2 separate regions of the Homo sapiens genome follow, and region 1 is linked to region 2. The links are contacts of gene promoters, found by promoter capture Hi-C in blood cells and fetal thymus (Javierre and others, 2016). All regions are on one chromosome and are shown on one strand. Each heading gives the region's core, a stretch centred on a gene start or on the middle of the fragment in contact. The rest is flanking DNA. Distances are from core to core; before and after follow the strand shown. Region 1 overlaps PRKCA (protein kinase C alpha). Region 2 holds the start of GNA13 (G protein subunit alpha 13).

What was found. Contacts are between HindIII fragments. The CHiCAGO score rates a contact against its expected background, and 5 or more counts as called.
Region 1: a contact is called between a fragment that was not itself captured here and the fragment with the promoter of GNA13 in region 2, in 1 of 17 cell types (M0 macrophages). The highest score is 5.1, in M0 macrophages.

What each region holds. Positions count from the first base shown.
Region 1 is chr17:66,449,122-66,456,433 of GRCh38, forward strand. All of the region lies in intron 2 of PRKCA (protein kinase C alpha), which reads left to right. Among named protein-coding and RNA genes, the nearest start is that of PRKCA-AS1, 36 kb to the left of the region's middle. The HindIII fragment of the contact is 1,715 bases long and covers 4,029-5,743 here.
Region 2 is chr17:65,053,682-65,061,269 of GRCh38, forward strand. GNA13 (G protein subunit alpha 13) reads right to left here and starts at 3,059. Exons shown (of 4, transcript NM_006572.6): 1 at 2,630-3,059; 2 at 1-47. The coding sequence starts at 2,912. RefSeq lists silencers at 2,297-2,556, 2,837-3,346. The HindIII fragment of the contact is 5,158 bases long and covers 14-5,171 here.

The DNA.
Region 1 (7,312 bases), core at 3,636-6,135, 1.4 Mb after region 2:
AAAAAATGAATTAAAAAAATAGCTGGGTGTGGTGGCATGTGCCTGTAGGCCTAGCTACTTGGGAGGCTGAGCTGGGAGGATTGCTTGAGCCCAGGAGATGGAAGTGGTAGTGAGCAGCGATAGCACCACTGCACTCCAGCCTGGGCAACAGCAAGACCCTATTTCAAAAAAACAAAACAAAACAAAACAAAAGCAAAAAAAGCATGAGCTTTAAAGTGAATGGATAGGTAGAGAGATTGAGGAATTTTTTGGTAACTCCTTAGCTATATTGCCTTTAAAAAAAAAAGTGTGTATATTACTTTCAGCAAAATTATTTCAGCAAATAAGTATAACACTGCTCTTGTTTATATTCTTTCAATTGAACCTCGCTGCCCAACCAGTAGTACATCCTCAGCCTTTTTTCCTCTCCCCAGATAGCTCATCTTCACGATCCCTAGCACAGCACTAAATGCAAACAAAATGTCCTTACATGTGAGTCAAGTACAGTTTAGTCTGGAGAAAAGGCCCCTGTGTCTGAAGCTGTTCCTTCTATGAGCCAAACATCAAGTGTTCAAGTCAGAGGGACTACACAGACCAGGACAGGGGGCTGGCTTCCAGGGCTGAGGTTGTTGCTGTAATTGTTTTTGGGTGTGCACCTGCAGCGCCTGTGTAAAGGTGGAGACAGTGGTGGGAGGAGTGAAATCTCCCACCGTGGTTGGATGCTGGACGAACGGCCTCAGGTGTAGGCAGCTTTTTTGTTGTTGTTTTTTTGTTTGTTTTGTTTTGTTCTGCCATGCGCTTCAGTTTGGAAGCAGCCTATATTGTACACGTTGATTACTTTGAAGAAGTGATTTCTTATTTTGCTTCATGTTCATTTTCAAGGAGGTATACCTTGGGGAGTGGGAGTGTTTTTTGTTTTTGTTTTTTTTTTAAGCATTGTTTATAGCCACAATAGAATGTCATTGGAAAGAGTGGAGGCTTTGGAATTACATTTTTATCCCATACTAACTGGGTGACCTTTGACAAGATCGTTAACTCATACTGAGTGGAGTTCCTGTTTCATGCTGGGAATCATGCTGGGACCTCAAAGACCTCCTGTTCTGGAGAGAGAGATGCTCATCGGGGGCCAGCAGAGCCAAGTTCACAGGACAGAGCAGGGATGCCCCAGCCAGTCTGCAAGAATTGGAACAGCTTGGTGGAAGAGAGACACAGTCCCTCTTAGTCACAGTCTCCTTGTCTGGAAGTAGGGGCAATGGTACCGCAGAGGGGTGGTACTGAGTGCTAAGTAAAACGAGTTAGAAATGCCTTTCACAGAGTCTGATGAATGAACGTGGGTCCCCATCTTTGGTACCTGAAGACGGCCATGTCCCACAGGTGTGTGGTCAGAGGGTGCACAGTTCACAGAAGGCCTCCACAGTGAGGTGGGATGCAGGTGGAAAGAGAAGTCCCAGGAAAAGGGAGGCAGGGGAGGAAACAGAAAGCTGCGGTTGGAAGAAGACCTCAGCACAGGTGCACTTTTTCTCTTGTGGATTAGTTATTACCGGATGACTTTCATCCACACACTTAACACTCTCTTTGCAGGGACAGTTTTGGGGAAGGGTAGGCGTCTGCTTTCACAGAAGGTAATTACCGCAAAAGCTGGTACCAGCTCATGCTGTTCTGATGTTTTGGTTACGCAATCATGGGCCCCTGTACTAGTACATTTGTCTTCATAAGCTGTGCTGAATTATTTTTTAAAACCGCTAACTGATGCGATTAGTAAAACATTTTGGTTTTTAACTTTTGATGAAAATAGCACTGTTTGGAACTGTGATGCAGGGGTTTACTGCTGAGTGAAGTTCTAGAATTTTGCTGAAAGTAACATGACCTGCTCTGTGGGTCTCACTCTGTCTCTCTGTTAAGATTGTTGAGTGAATGGAAGAAAAGGAAGACTTGGTGTGTTTCCAGTGATCTATAAAGAAATGATGAAGTGAATATGTTCTGTGGATCTCTGTTCTCTCTTTGACTCTATTAACCAAGTAATATCTTAATTTAAAATGATGAAATTTAGGAAATTAGACATTGCTATTCATCTTAGAAGGGAACAAAGTATCCATGCTGGTCTAGTGAAGCCACATATTAAATCCTCTTAAAACTTAAACTGTGCCTTTTTTCCAGATTTGATCTACGTGTGGATATTCTAATGATTGAATATAATAGGATTCCATTCTTTAATTTCAAAACTTTTAGAATACGGAGTTAGAATTTATTTATTTATTTATTTATTTATTTATTTATTTATTTATTACCTAAAACAAGTTCAGTGGAAGATGCTTTTTGATTATTATCACATTTTGGGCTTTTGTTTTTGGTAACATGCAGGCCATATATGAATGAAATTTTGCTCTTTCACAGAATGATATGAGCATCTGTTTCTTCTAATTAGAATACATCTACAGGAGAAGAGGGATTTTAATTTTCATGTTGTAGCGAATGTCTAAGGGTTGACCGGGTATTTTGGAGGAGTAGTTGTACTTTGATCATATTTGTATTTGCTTTTCTGGTCAGGAGCCTGGATAAGGAAGCGCCCCCTAACGGGTGGGTGGAGCAGAGGGAGTGGGGCGAGAGATGGAGAGGAGGGGCCGGGGCAAGGAAGGATCCCTAGGTCTGCCTTCCTGTCCACAGCACTGCCCGCCAGCCACAGCTCCTGAGTCAAAGGCTCTGAAGCAAAGTTGTATGATGAACCTTGGATTTCCTGTACAATTTGGCTAACTCTAGGGTGATCTCTAATAAAGACAAAGGCCAGGGGACAGAAATATCTTTCTTTTGCTCCTGGCAAATCCCATTTTGATTCTATCTCAATCTAACTGTCCAGAAAATTGGATTGAAAGCAGGACACCGCCGGGAGGTAAATCAGATTAGGGCTTCCTCTACCACAGCCTCCAGCAGACATTTCATTTTGCAGTGTGCGTCCCTCATTTATATGAAGCCGTGTATGGCCCCTCCATGCAGCAGGGTGCGTCCAAGCTGACCCAGCGAACCAAGACATCAGGTGACCCTCCAATTTGATTCACTGAAAATACTGCCGGTGGCTTCATTTTCTCCAGAGAACTGTCTGCACCTCTGTTCCTTTCTTTTTATTTGGGTGCCTATGATGACCTCATTGAAGTCTTCATCTTTTTCTTAGCCAATGTAGCGTTTGCTAAGGAGCCAGACCTCAGATAGGAATGGAGAGCCCCAGAATCCAGGTGCAGCACAGGTGCTTCCAGAACCTTCTATGTGGTCCCTTCGGGAAAGGATCATCTGTTTTTGTGAGGCTTAACAGGAAGACAGAACTAGGGAAGAAGCAGGGTGAGGAGGGAGAAGTGCAGCTGTGTATAGCGAGAATAAGGATCTGCCGAAATTTATCTTGGGGTTTTTATTTCCTCTTGAAATGTTGTGCGTTCTGAGAACCTCGAGGAGTGTTTTTGTTGCCTGATAGGAACTGGCCCGGCTTGTTCCTATTGCACTGAAGCCTTCAGGAATGCGGCCTCTGCACCTGTGATGAAAACAACATCCAAGAAACCCACCAGTGGGTTCCAGAACTTCCTTTCTACAGTGACTGTTTGGGTCACAAAACATAACTAGACAAAAAATTAGCTGGGCGTGGTGGCGGGTGCCTGTAGTCCCAGCTACTCAGGAGGCTGAGGCAGGAGAATGGCATGAACCTGGGAGGCGGAGCATGCAGTGAGCCGAGATGGCACCACTGCACTCCAGCCTGGATGACAGAGCGAGACTCCGTCTCAAAAACAAACAAACAAAAAAACAAACAAAACACATAACTAGAAATTATGAGGTTTATAAGGGCTGGTGTCTTAACCGCAAGTGCCTGTTTGAACCCCCATTGAGCTTGTAGCATCGAGATGTGCTGTGTGTCACATTCAGCCACATTTGTACAGTTGGTGGCATTTAGGAGTCCTGCCTGGAAGGCCAAGAATATTTTTCCCCACAGTGGCTTAGGAAATGGAACTGGAGCCCTCATTCCCCTCACTTCCCACTGGCTAGGTGGTCACGGATGTGGAAATATCCCAAGCTTGAAACCACTGAAGATGGAGCTCCTGACTTGGAACAGAGGCTCTGGGGTAAGGCAGGCATTGGGGACTTGAGGGAATCCCAGGAAAAGACTGGGAACTAGAACCCATGTGCCCTCGTACAGATCCACAGTCCCCTTGCCTTGGGTCCCGTGATCCTTTTTTTCTTTTTTTTTTTCTTTTTTTGAGATAGAGTCTTGCTTTGTCACCCAGACTGGAGCGCAGTGGCTTGATCTCAGCTCACTGCAACCTCCACCTCCTGGGTTCAAGCGATTCTCCTGCCTCAGCCTCCTAAGTAGCTGAGATTACAGGCGCCCGCCACCATGCCCAGCTAATTTTTTGTGTTTTCAGTAGAAACGTGTTTCGCCATGTTGACCAGGCTGGTCTCGAACTCCTGACCTCAGGTGATCCGCCCACCTCAGCCTCCCAAAGTGCTGGGATTATAGACGTGAGCCACTGCGCCCAGCCCCCCTGATCTTTAGAACTGCCCTGCTTGCCTCCCTTTGCGCCGCCCTCGTCTGCTGTAGGTCGAATTGGTTTAAGAGCTGGGCATCCACTGGGGAGAAAAATCAGAGTAGGGCTTCCTGGGACTCTTCTGGGTTGTTCTGACTAACATTGGGTTTTACTCAAATTTTCTCTCCCTGATGTAAACACGCAGATATTTTTTAAGGTTTTAAGTGTGACCATTTAGCTTACATGCAAGTCAGAATACTTTGGGTTTTTTCAGATCCAATAGCAGGAGCATCCAGGCTTTTAAAGCTGTGGGATATGATTTCTGTGTATTTGGGCTAAATTAATTTGTTTATTGATAACCTCAGTTGTTATCATGCTAAACTGTCAGAATTGGATGTGAAGCCAGTGCTTATGTAGACTTTATTTATGTCTGGCTTCTTTCTGAAAACAATTCCTCCTCATGCCCTAGTTTCATGTTGTGATTTTAGCAGAATTAATCTGAAATGACTCAAAATTATACAATTAATTGCATTCAGCTTCAATTACAGTCTGCTGGATGAACCAAGCCCACTGCCCTCTCTGGGCAGTCACTTGCATGTGGCAGCTTTGTAGGTGCTAAGGCCCTGTGGACTCCCTGGTCAGTGTGCTGGCTTCCTGGGGAAAGCATTTTGGGGTTGACAGTCCCAGGGGCCTAATGCCTCAGTTGCAGACAAATGCAGGCTGGACCTGGGGCTGCAAAAATGCCAGGTAACAGCAAAGACCATGGAGGTGAGTGTCATGGAATTTGGGATAAATGATAAAACATTCTTTTCTTTTTTAGTAGAAAACCCAGATTTGGGTGTTTAGGGTTGGAGAAGGCAGGATCTGGGTAGGTGTATTAGTCTGTTTTCATGCTACTGATAAAGACATACCCGAAACTGGGCAATTTACAAAAGAAAGAGGTTTAATGGACTCACAGTTCCATGTGTCTGGGGAGGCCTCACAATCATGGCGGAAGGTGAAAGGCACATCCACATGGCAGCAGACAAGAGTAAGAGCCAAGCGAAACAAGTTTCCCTTTCTAAAACCATCAGATCTCATGAGACTTCTTCACTACTACGAGAACAGTCCACCATGATTCAATTAATAACTCCCACTGGCTCCCTCCCCCAATGTGTAGGAATTTACGGGAGGTACAATTCGAGATGAGATTTGGGTGGAGACACAGCTAAACCGTATCAGTAGGTTTAAGGTTTGGAAGGTGGCCAGCCCCAGGGCAGAGAAGCTTCTACTGGAGATTCCTTCCTTTCTCCTTTTTACTCTGTGCAATTGTGGGCCCTGGGGTGAGCCAGGTGAGGGCAGGTGCCTGACCACAGGATGGAAGGGCCGGCAGATGGCGGACCCAGGCAGCAGTGGAGGGAAGGTGGGGGTTGAGGGGATGCAGAGGGCTGAGAGAAACTGGGGATGGAGGGAACTGTGGTCGACGCAGCTATAGGTCTGGACTTATTTTTCCCAGATGAGGAATATCTTTAAGTCCACATAAGTGAGTCAGGGACTGCTTGTATTCAACTTGTGCTCCTTTGAAATGTTCTTATTCTCCCCACGAACTGACTTTCATTCACACCGTCTATTTGGCAATACATGACCGAATTTGGAGCCTAGTTCTTTTTGGCAAGAAAAGTTCATTAATTTTAGTCGGCTCCCCACACACTTCACAAATGTGCTTGAAAAAATAAAGGGCCTCTTATCGCCACACAGCTGCCACGAAATTGCCAGGAGTGCTGAGTGCTCACATATAGAAGACGGCCATTTATGTTGATGCTGTGAGAAGAAAAGGTCCCCCGAAGCACTTTGAACTGGAGCTGCCAGGAAAATGATGGTAAATGCAGAAGCATCAGCGAAGCCATAGGCTTTATGATCATTTATCATTCCAAATTTCTAAGGATTATCTTCATCTCTTTTATTCTGTAAACACTGATTAACTTTTAAAGGTGATGGAAGTCTGGCTGAGTCAAACTTACTCATCCATCAACTTAGTGGACTTGGAGAAAAGGCCCTGCTGTGACATTTTGATTAACTGGGATCTTACCTGTGTGGGGTTTTCTTTCCACTTAATATCTAAGAACACAAGGGTGGGAAGAAACTTCAGTGCCTGCCTGCCTTCTGCTCTTTTCCTCATCTGTAAATGAACATCTGAGAAGGGAGTGAGACGTTCATATCAGCCTGTGCAGTAGGCCTAGCTACACTCATTTATTTGCTCTCTCTTTTCTGATTTCTCTCTGTACTGGGCTGAACAATGTTCCCTCAAAATTCATGCTCGTCCAGAACCTCACAATGTCACCTTATTTGCAAATAGGGTCTCTGCAGATGTAAATAGTTAAGGTGGTGGTAGATTAGGGTAGACACTAAATCCATTGACTGTTGTTCTCGTAAGAAGGCCAGGTGAAGACACAGAGACACACAGGAGGAAGGCCACGAGATACTGGAGGCAGAGATTGGAACGATGCATCTACAAACCGAGGAATGCCAAGATTTGCCAGGAGCCACCAGGAACTAGGAGTGAAAGATGAGGAACAGATTCTTTCTCAGAGCTTCCAGAAGGAACCAGCCCCATCAATGCCTTGATTCCAGACTTTTGTCCTCCAGTAGCAATTCTGAGAATAGATTCCTGTTCTGAGTTACCCAGCTTGTGGTACTTTGCTGGGGCAACCCTAGGAAATGAATAAACTCATTGTACTTCTGAGGTGTCTTTGTTCTCTTTTTAATACCAGGTATATACTGCTGCTCATTCTAAATTTCCTCTTGTCCAACCCAAGTTTAAGAGCCGTAAGTGGCCTATTCTAAGTTTTCTT
Region 2 (7,588 bases), core at 1,809-4,308:
CCAGGGAATATGAAGCTTCTCTCGAGCATCAACCAGCACCCTCATACCTTTGTTTAAAAAGAAGAAAAAAAATGTATGGAGAGGAGTCATTACATATTATCATAAGTTTTTATTCCAGTATTATTTCCTTATACTTCTGAATTAACCTAGACAAACCTTCTTCAAAAATGAAGACCAACATCGAAAACAAATGTAACTTCTCAGAGGTTAAAAAAAATAACAGTTGCTCACTGTCTTAAAATTAGAGCCTTGAAAAGCAAATACTATTAGCACAATTCCTCTCTCTGAAGGATTTTTAACATGTTCCAATTTATAAAATAACTTCTAGGATAGAAGGTAGTCAAAAAACAATCTAACTCAAGAAAGAAAAAGAAGTTATGCTGCACAGACCAACAATGTCCAAGCTCAGAAGAAAACAGACACAACCAAGGTTTTATGAGCCTAAAAGATGTTCATTTATGAAACACTAAGAACCAACTACTATAGCTCCATGTTCTGTTTGTTGCTTCGGCACCCTAACCCAACATTGAGTCTTCTAGCAACACATTCAAAATTTAAAAACTTCTTCCAGCCCAAGTTTCAATCCAGTTTAAGTTACAGGATGGCCTTCAATTTCCCTAAAAGGGAGGAAGATCAACTGCAAAATAATACAAAGTCGGACTCCAACTCACAGAGGTTAGTTGAAACTCATTTTTCCTATCACTGATCTATTACTTTTATTAAGTTTGATCAATCTGAACAGTCACTTGGCTATTAGGAAGTCATCTGAATAACTGAAAAACGGGTGGGGTTTTTTTGTTTTTGTTTTTTAATAGAGACGAGGTCTGGCTATGTAGCCCAGCTGGTCTGGAACTCCTGGGCTCAAGCCATCCTCCCACTTTGGCCTCCCAAAGTGCTGGGATTGCAGGAGTGAGCCACCACGCCCAGCCTGAGAAACTGTTCTACTGTCAAATTTCATGTCAACTTGAAAAAACTAGATTCCTGATGACTTACATCATCTCATAATCAATGCTCAACGTAGATCACACTTACAACTCAGTGTACATTAAGAACGAGGTGTTTACCAGGCTCACAGTCAGTTAACATGTTGATGCTATTCATTAACATAATTCCTTAAGTTCAGCTGCATCAGGTTACAAAGGTACCTTCAATTAAGGACTGTCAAGGCAGAGTCTGCAGCCTTGAAAGAGACCTTAATTAGTTTTGAGCTAAACATTACAGCAGGATAAATACAACTGTTCTTTATAGTTTAACTGCAGAGGTACTAGGGCTAGAGCTGGCTGTGGTCTAGTGATTCTCTCTAATTCATTACTCCATAATGCCTGGCTCTTCAGGCAGTTTTCCTTTACCCAAACGCTGGAAGCTCGGGAGGCGGTTGGCGGGGAGGGGGCGGGGGGGTGACATGCAGAAGTCCCTTATGTACTTCCTGAACAAAAATCCCACTTAAAAAGACCTGCAATCTGTAGCAAACTCCTAAACTGCTCCCCAGATAAAATAAAATCCAGATGCACCTGAGTTACCAGGCGCTGCACCTAAATTTTGCCAAAATGCCTTTTCTATAGAACATACTTGACACGCAGAAACGAGTGTTAATTATCTTTCAAATGACAAAATAAAAACCATCTTTTCGATTTCTTTGAATGCCCAGAAATAAACAACTTGTTTATTTTTCACTTAAGAACAAAGTTTAATTTTAAAACTACTGTCAATAAAGAGCCGAGCCAATTATCTAACTCAACACTCATTCATTGTCTCCATCTGTACAGGATCCACATGACTTTTAGGCCAGTCTTCTTACTACTACATTTCATCTAAATAGAAGCAGTGGTACTCCCTTCCTGCCAGCCCCCAGTTACTTAGCGAAAAGGAGAGTGGAACGTGTTGCACAGAAATCACACGCAAACATCCTACCTGACCGTGACACTGGGGCGAAAAAGCACAGATGCTACATTTTCATGCTAACTGTATGGGTCCACTCTCTCCTGATTCCAGTACAGTCAACCTGACACTCCTCAAGTTTCATATTCTCGCCCAAAAGGAGGCTGTCACCCTACGCCCTTGACAAGAAGTCTCGGGCAAAAAGTTCCCTTATTGCGACGGTTCCAGAACTCGCTTGCTTAGGAGACGGCCAAGGAAGCAGGGAGTTGGGAGCGCATGCGACCCCATGTGACTCGGGTCACCCAGCCAGGGTAGCGAGGTTCGGCCCACATCGCCCGAGCAGGGGATGGGGGTGAAGCGGCTAGGGCTGCTATTGGTGTTCCTGCCTCATCCGCAGCGGGGAGGACAGGAGAGGTCTGCCCACACCCCGAGGCAGCACCCAGCTCGCCCCACTTCCCTCTCGCAGGGGGAGAGACCAGGACGCGGTGGGGGGTGGGGGAATGGCCGTGACGCCCACCGGGGAGACAAGCGGGAGAGCAGGGCGACCCCGAGCATCCTCTCGCCCTGGGGCGCGAGGGCACCCCGGGCGGGCAGGGCCAGTTGCCGGGGCGCGCCCCCTTCCCGCCAGCCCGCCCGCCGGGCCCGTTCCTTCGCCAGCGACACAGCGGACCAGGGCGGTGCCCCGCCCCGCACCCGCCGCCGCCCCAGCCCCCCTGCCCTTAACCCCCGGCCCCCATTCCCGGCCCGGCACCTTTGATCACGTTGCTGTAGATGGTGGGGCGGAACTCCTCGCGCGCGCGCTGGTCGAAGTCCTGCCCGTGGATGATCCGCATCTGCTTCAGGAAGGTGGACTTGCCGCTCTCGCCCGCGCCCAGCAGCAGGATCTTCACCAGCCGCTTCACATAGGTCTTTTCCCGAGACAGGCATTTGTCGATCTCCTTGGACTTGCGTTGCTGCTCGGCCTCGCCACTCGTCAGCAGGCAGCCGGGGAAGCACACGGACAGCACGGACCGCGACGGCAGGAAGTCCGCCATCTTGCCGCCGCCGCCGCCGCCTCGGCGGGCCCCTCCGGCTCCCTCCACCTCCTCCTCCGGCGGCGGGCGGCTCCGGCACCGAGGCTCGAGGGCGGGGAGCGCGGCGGCGGCCCGAGCGCGCCCAGGGAGGGAGGGAACCAGCGAACTGACTCGCAGGGCGGGCCGGGCAGGGCGGGCCAGGACAGCGGGGGAGGGAGGGAGGGAAGGAGGGCGGGCCCGGCCCCGGAGGGGCGGTGGCCCCGGAGCGTGCGCGCTCCCGCTGCCTCCCGGAGGCGCGCTCGCACGCCGCGGCCGCTTCTCCGCCTCCCGCCCTGGGCGGCGAGTCACGAGCTCGATGTGTCGCTCGGGTGCCCGCGCCCGCAGCCGCGGCCGGGCGCGCGGGGAGGGCTGAGGAACCGCGGTCACGTGGGCCAGGCTGGGGAGCCCGACTTTCTGTTTCCCTTTCATGGCCTGAGCCCACTTGTGGGCAGAAGGGCTCCTTCCCCAAGGCCGGGAGGCCGGAGACCAGGTCCCGGACGCGGTTCTTTGGGCTCCCACTTAGCCTCCCTTTCTCCCGCGTTGCGCGCCCGCTGCCCGCTGTCACCGCCCACCCGACCCATTTCGAGGCCACGGACTCGAAAGTTATTCGAACAGAACAGCCGGCGTGAGCCTGGCAGGCCTTTGGTGCATTTTCTTTATTTCATTTTATTTTTTCTCTTTTGAGACGGAGTCTCACCCTGTCGCCCAGGCTGGAGTGCATTGGCTCGATCTCGACTCACTGCAACCTCCGCCTCCCAGGTTCAAGCCATCCTTCCGCCTCAGCCTCCCGAGTAGCTGGGAGTACAGGCGTGTGCCATCATACCCGGCTAAATTTTTTGTATTTATTTTTAGATACAGGGGCTCCCCCCTATGTTGCCCAGGCTGGTCTCGAACTCCTGAGCTCAAGCGATCCTCTAGCCTCGGCCTCCCACAGTGCGGGGATTCCAGACAGAGCCACCAGGCCCAGGCCTGGTGTGTTTTCTTAAAGTGACTCCCTTGACCTTCTAGTCTCCGAATCCCAGAACGGTAACCAGACGTCGTCCACCCCCACTTCCAGCTCTTTCTGGCATTTTCAGACCCCTACCAGGGCTCTCTGTGAGGGGAAAGAACTGGAGTTGATGTTCACTTGAGACGTGCTACCAGGGGCATTTAATGGCTCACTCGTGCATTCCACCTGGGCTGTGATGTGACTTCAGGGACGCTTGGCCGCGCCGGAATTAGCGAGTGGCAGCAGGAGGGTGAGGTCATGGTGAAAATCCCCTACACCGGACACTGTGATGTAGGCTCTTCCCAACAAGGAAGCAGATACACAAACACAACGAGGAATGGGAGCACGCAAATTTTAGCTTTCCTGCCAGATTACAGAGGATATGACCCGTCCAGGGACTTTTTTTCTGTCCTAACAGCAGATTCAGGCCAGGACACCTGAAAGGAGGCCAGGAGACAAGCCACAAGTGACAGCTGTGGGTTGGCAGAGAAACTGCTTAACCGGGACCCCCGAGAGCCGACCTCTTCATTCTTAGTATTTAGTTTCAAGTGGAAAAAGCCACTTTGGTCTGTCCCTGTTTTGGGCAATGCAACGTAGCTTTGGGCTCCTGTGGCTCAGAAACTTCGTATGTATAAGGGAGCGGAGGTAAGAGGTCAGCATTCCAAGAAACTCCCGAACAGGTTTAAATTTTAAAATCGGTACTAATCAGTTACTCCCTGGGGTTGGGTTAATGACCGAGAAGCCTCGACTCAGTAGATTGGCTGCAGTAAACAATGCCTGTAGTAGGATTATCTCCTGTGGCTCTGGCAAGCCCAGAGGGTGGACAACCTACAATATACAAGTAGAGTAGGCTCACCTCCAATATCTGTGGATTGATAAGAGTCAGAATCACTGAGCAGTGCTGTCAGGCAAAATATATGGTAAAAGCCTGCCCTGGATGGAGAATTTTTCCATCATCTCATCTAGTGTTTGGGAGGCCCTGTTCTCTAACCATGCAAGGACTCGCCTCTCCCAGGATTGGGGCATAGAACCTGTCCCCGAGCACTGTTTCTGCATTGACCCCAGGTGCTAATCTGAACTCCAACAAAGAGGAGAGAAACTTGTAAGTTAGGTAGTTAACATCTTTTTTCAGAAGTGTGTGTAATATAATGGAAAACCAAGAATGCCTAGGAGGCAGGAAGGTATTCCTGCCCAGCCAGTTCATGTCGTGACATGCAGAGCAGCAGAGAAAGCTGTTTAAAGCCCTGCGTGTAAGCTTGCCTTGGAACAAACTTGGCTCACATCAAGTCTGGCTGTTCTAGTCAGTGTAGTTTTTAAAAAGAGACCTCTTTGACCTGAAAGTCAAATGAAGGAAGAAGAAGAAGAAGGAGGAAGGAGGAAGGAAGAAAGAAAGAAAAAGAAGGCCGGGCACAGTAGCTCATGCCTGTAATCCCAGCACTTTGGGAGGCTGATGCAGGCAGATGACTTGAGCCCAGGAGTTCGAGACCAGCCTGGCCAACATGGCGAAACTTCATCTCTACTAAAAATACAAAAATTAGTGGGGAGTGGTGGTGGGCGCTTGTAGTCCCAGCTACTCGGGAGGCTGAGGCAGGAGAATTGCTTGAACGTGGGAGGCGGAGGTTGCAGTGAGCCGAGATCAGGCCACTGCACTCCAGCATGGGTGACAGAGTGAGACTCTCTGTCTCAAAAAAAAAAAAAAAGAAAAAGAATGAATGAATGAAAGAAAGAAAAAGAGACCTCTTTGGGTCCAACCTAGGGGTTTGGCTGCAGCTGTCCAGCTTCTTCTAACTGGTGATCAAGACACCTTGTAAATTGTAAACATAAAAATGAGTTAGAGACTTGGTGGTTTCTCAAAGAGGTGAACATAGAATTGCCATATGACCCAGTAATTTTATCCTGGGTATACCCCCCAAAATACTAAAAAGAATTGAAAACAGTGTTCAAACAAAAACTTGTATACCCACGTTCATGGCAGCACCATTTATGGTAGCCAAGAGATTAGCCGGCTGCAGTGGTTCACGCCTGTAATCCAAACACTTAAGCCAGGAGTTTAAGAGCAGCCTGGGCAACATGGTGAAACCCTGTCTACAAAAAAATATATAAAAAGTAGGGGAAGGCGGTGTGCACCTGTGGTCCTAGCTACTCAGAAGGCTGAGGTGGGAAAATCGCTTGAGTCCAGGAAGCGGAGGCTGCAGTGAGCCAAAATTGCACCACTGCACTTCAGCCTGGGGAACAGAGCCAGACCCTGTCTCAAAAAAAAAAAAAAAAAAATAGCCAGATGTGGTGGCACATAGCTGTAGTTCTAGCTACTCAGGAGGCTGAGGCAGGAAGATTGCTTAAATGCAGGAGCTCAAGGCTACAGTGAGCTATGATCATGCCACTGAACTCTAAGTCTGTGTGACAGAGTGAGACCCTATCTCTAAAAAACAAGACACAAAGAGGGGAACAACAGACACTGGGACCTACTTGAGGGTGGAAGGCAGGAGGAGGGAGAGGATTAAAAAAAAAATACCTGGTCGGGTGCAGTGGTTCACACCTGTAATCCCAGCACTTTTCGGAGGCCGAGGCGGGCGGATCACCTGAGGTCAGGAGTTTGAGACCAGCCTGGCCAATATGATGAAACCCCATCTCTACTAAAAATACCAAAAATTAGGCGGGCATGGTGGCACGCGCCTGTAATCCCAGCTCCTCAGGAGGCTGAGACAGGAGAATTGTTTGAACCTGGGAGGCGGAGGTTGCAGTGAGCCGAGATCACGCCATTGCACTCTAGCCTGGGCAGCAAGAGCGAAACTCCGTCTCAAAAACCAAAACAAAACGAAACAAAACAAAAAACATATCGCATACTATACTTATTACCTGAGTGACTAAATAATCTGTACACCAAACTCGAGATGAGCAGTTTACCTGTATAACAAACCTGCATATGTACTCCTAAACCTAAAATAAAAGTTAAAAAAACCCACAACAACAAAAAAGGAATAGCCAAAAGGTGTCCAAATGTCCATCGATGAACGAATGGATAAACCAAATGTCGCATATCTATACATTGCAATTATTCAGCCATAAAAAGGAATGAGGTGCTGACACATGCTGCAACATGAATGAACTTTGAAAATACTAGGCAAAGTGAAACAAAAGGCCCCATATTATAAGGTTCCACTTATGTGAAATGTCCAGAATAGGCAAATCCATAAAACAGAAAGCAGATGGGGTGAGGGAAGTTGTGGGGAGACTGCTTAACGGTACAGAGTTTCGTTTTGGGATGACGAAAATGTTTTTGGAAATAGATAGTGATGATGGTTGGAGAACATTGTGACTGTACTAAATGCCACTGAATTCTACACTGTAAAGTGGTCACATGATTAATTTTATGTTATGTGAATTTTGCCACAATAAAAAAATGAATTGGGGAAAAAAATCTATATTATATATTTGTAATATATATAATATAAATATATATTTTTTATTTTATTTTATTTTTAAATTATTATTATTTTTTTCCAAGACAGAGTCTTGCTCTGTCATCTAGAGCTAGCATGCAGTGGCGTGATCTCGGCTCACTGCAACCTCTGCCTCCCGGGTTTAAGCAATTCTCCTGCCTCAGCCTCTGGAGTAGCTGGGAACACAGGAGCTGCCACCATGCCCTGCTAGTTTTTGTATTTTTAGTCCG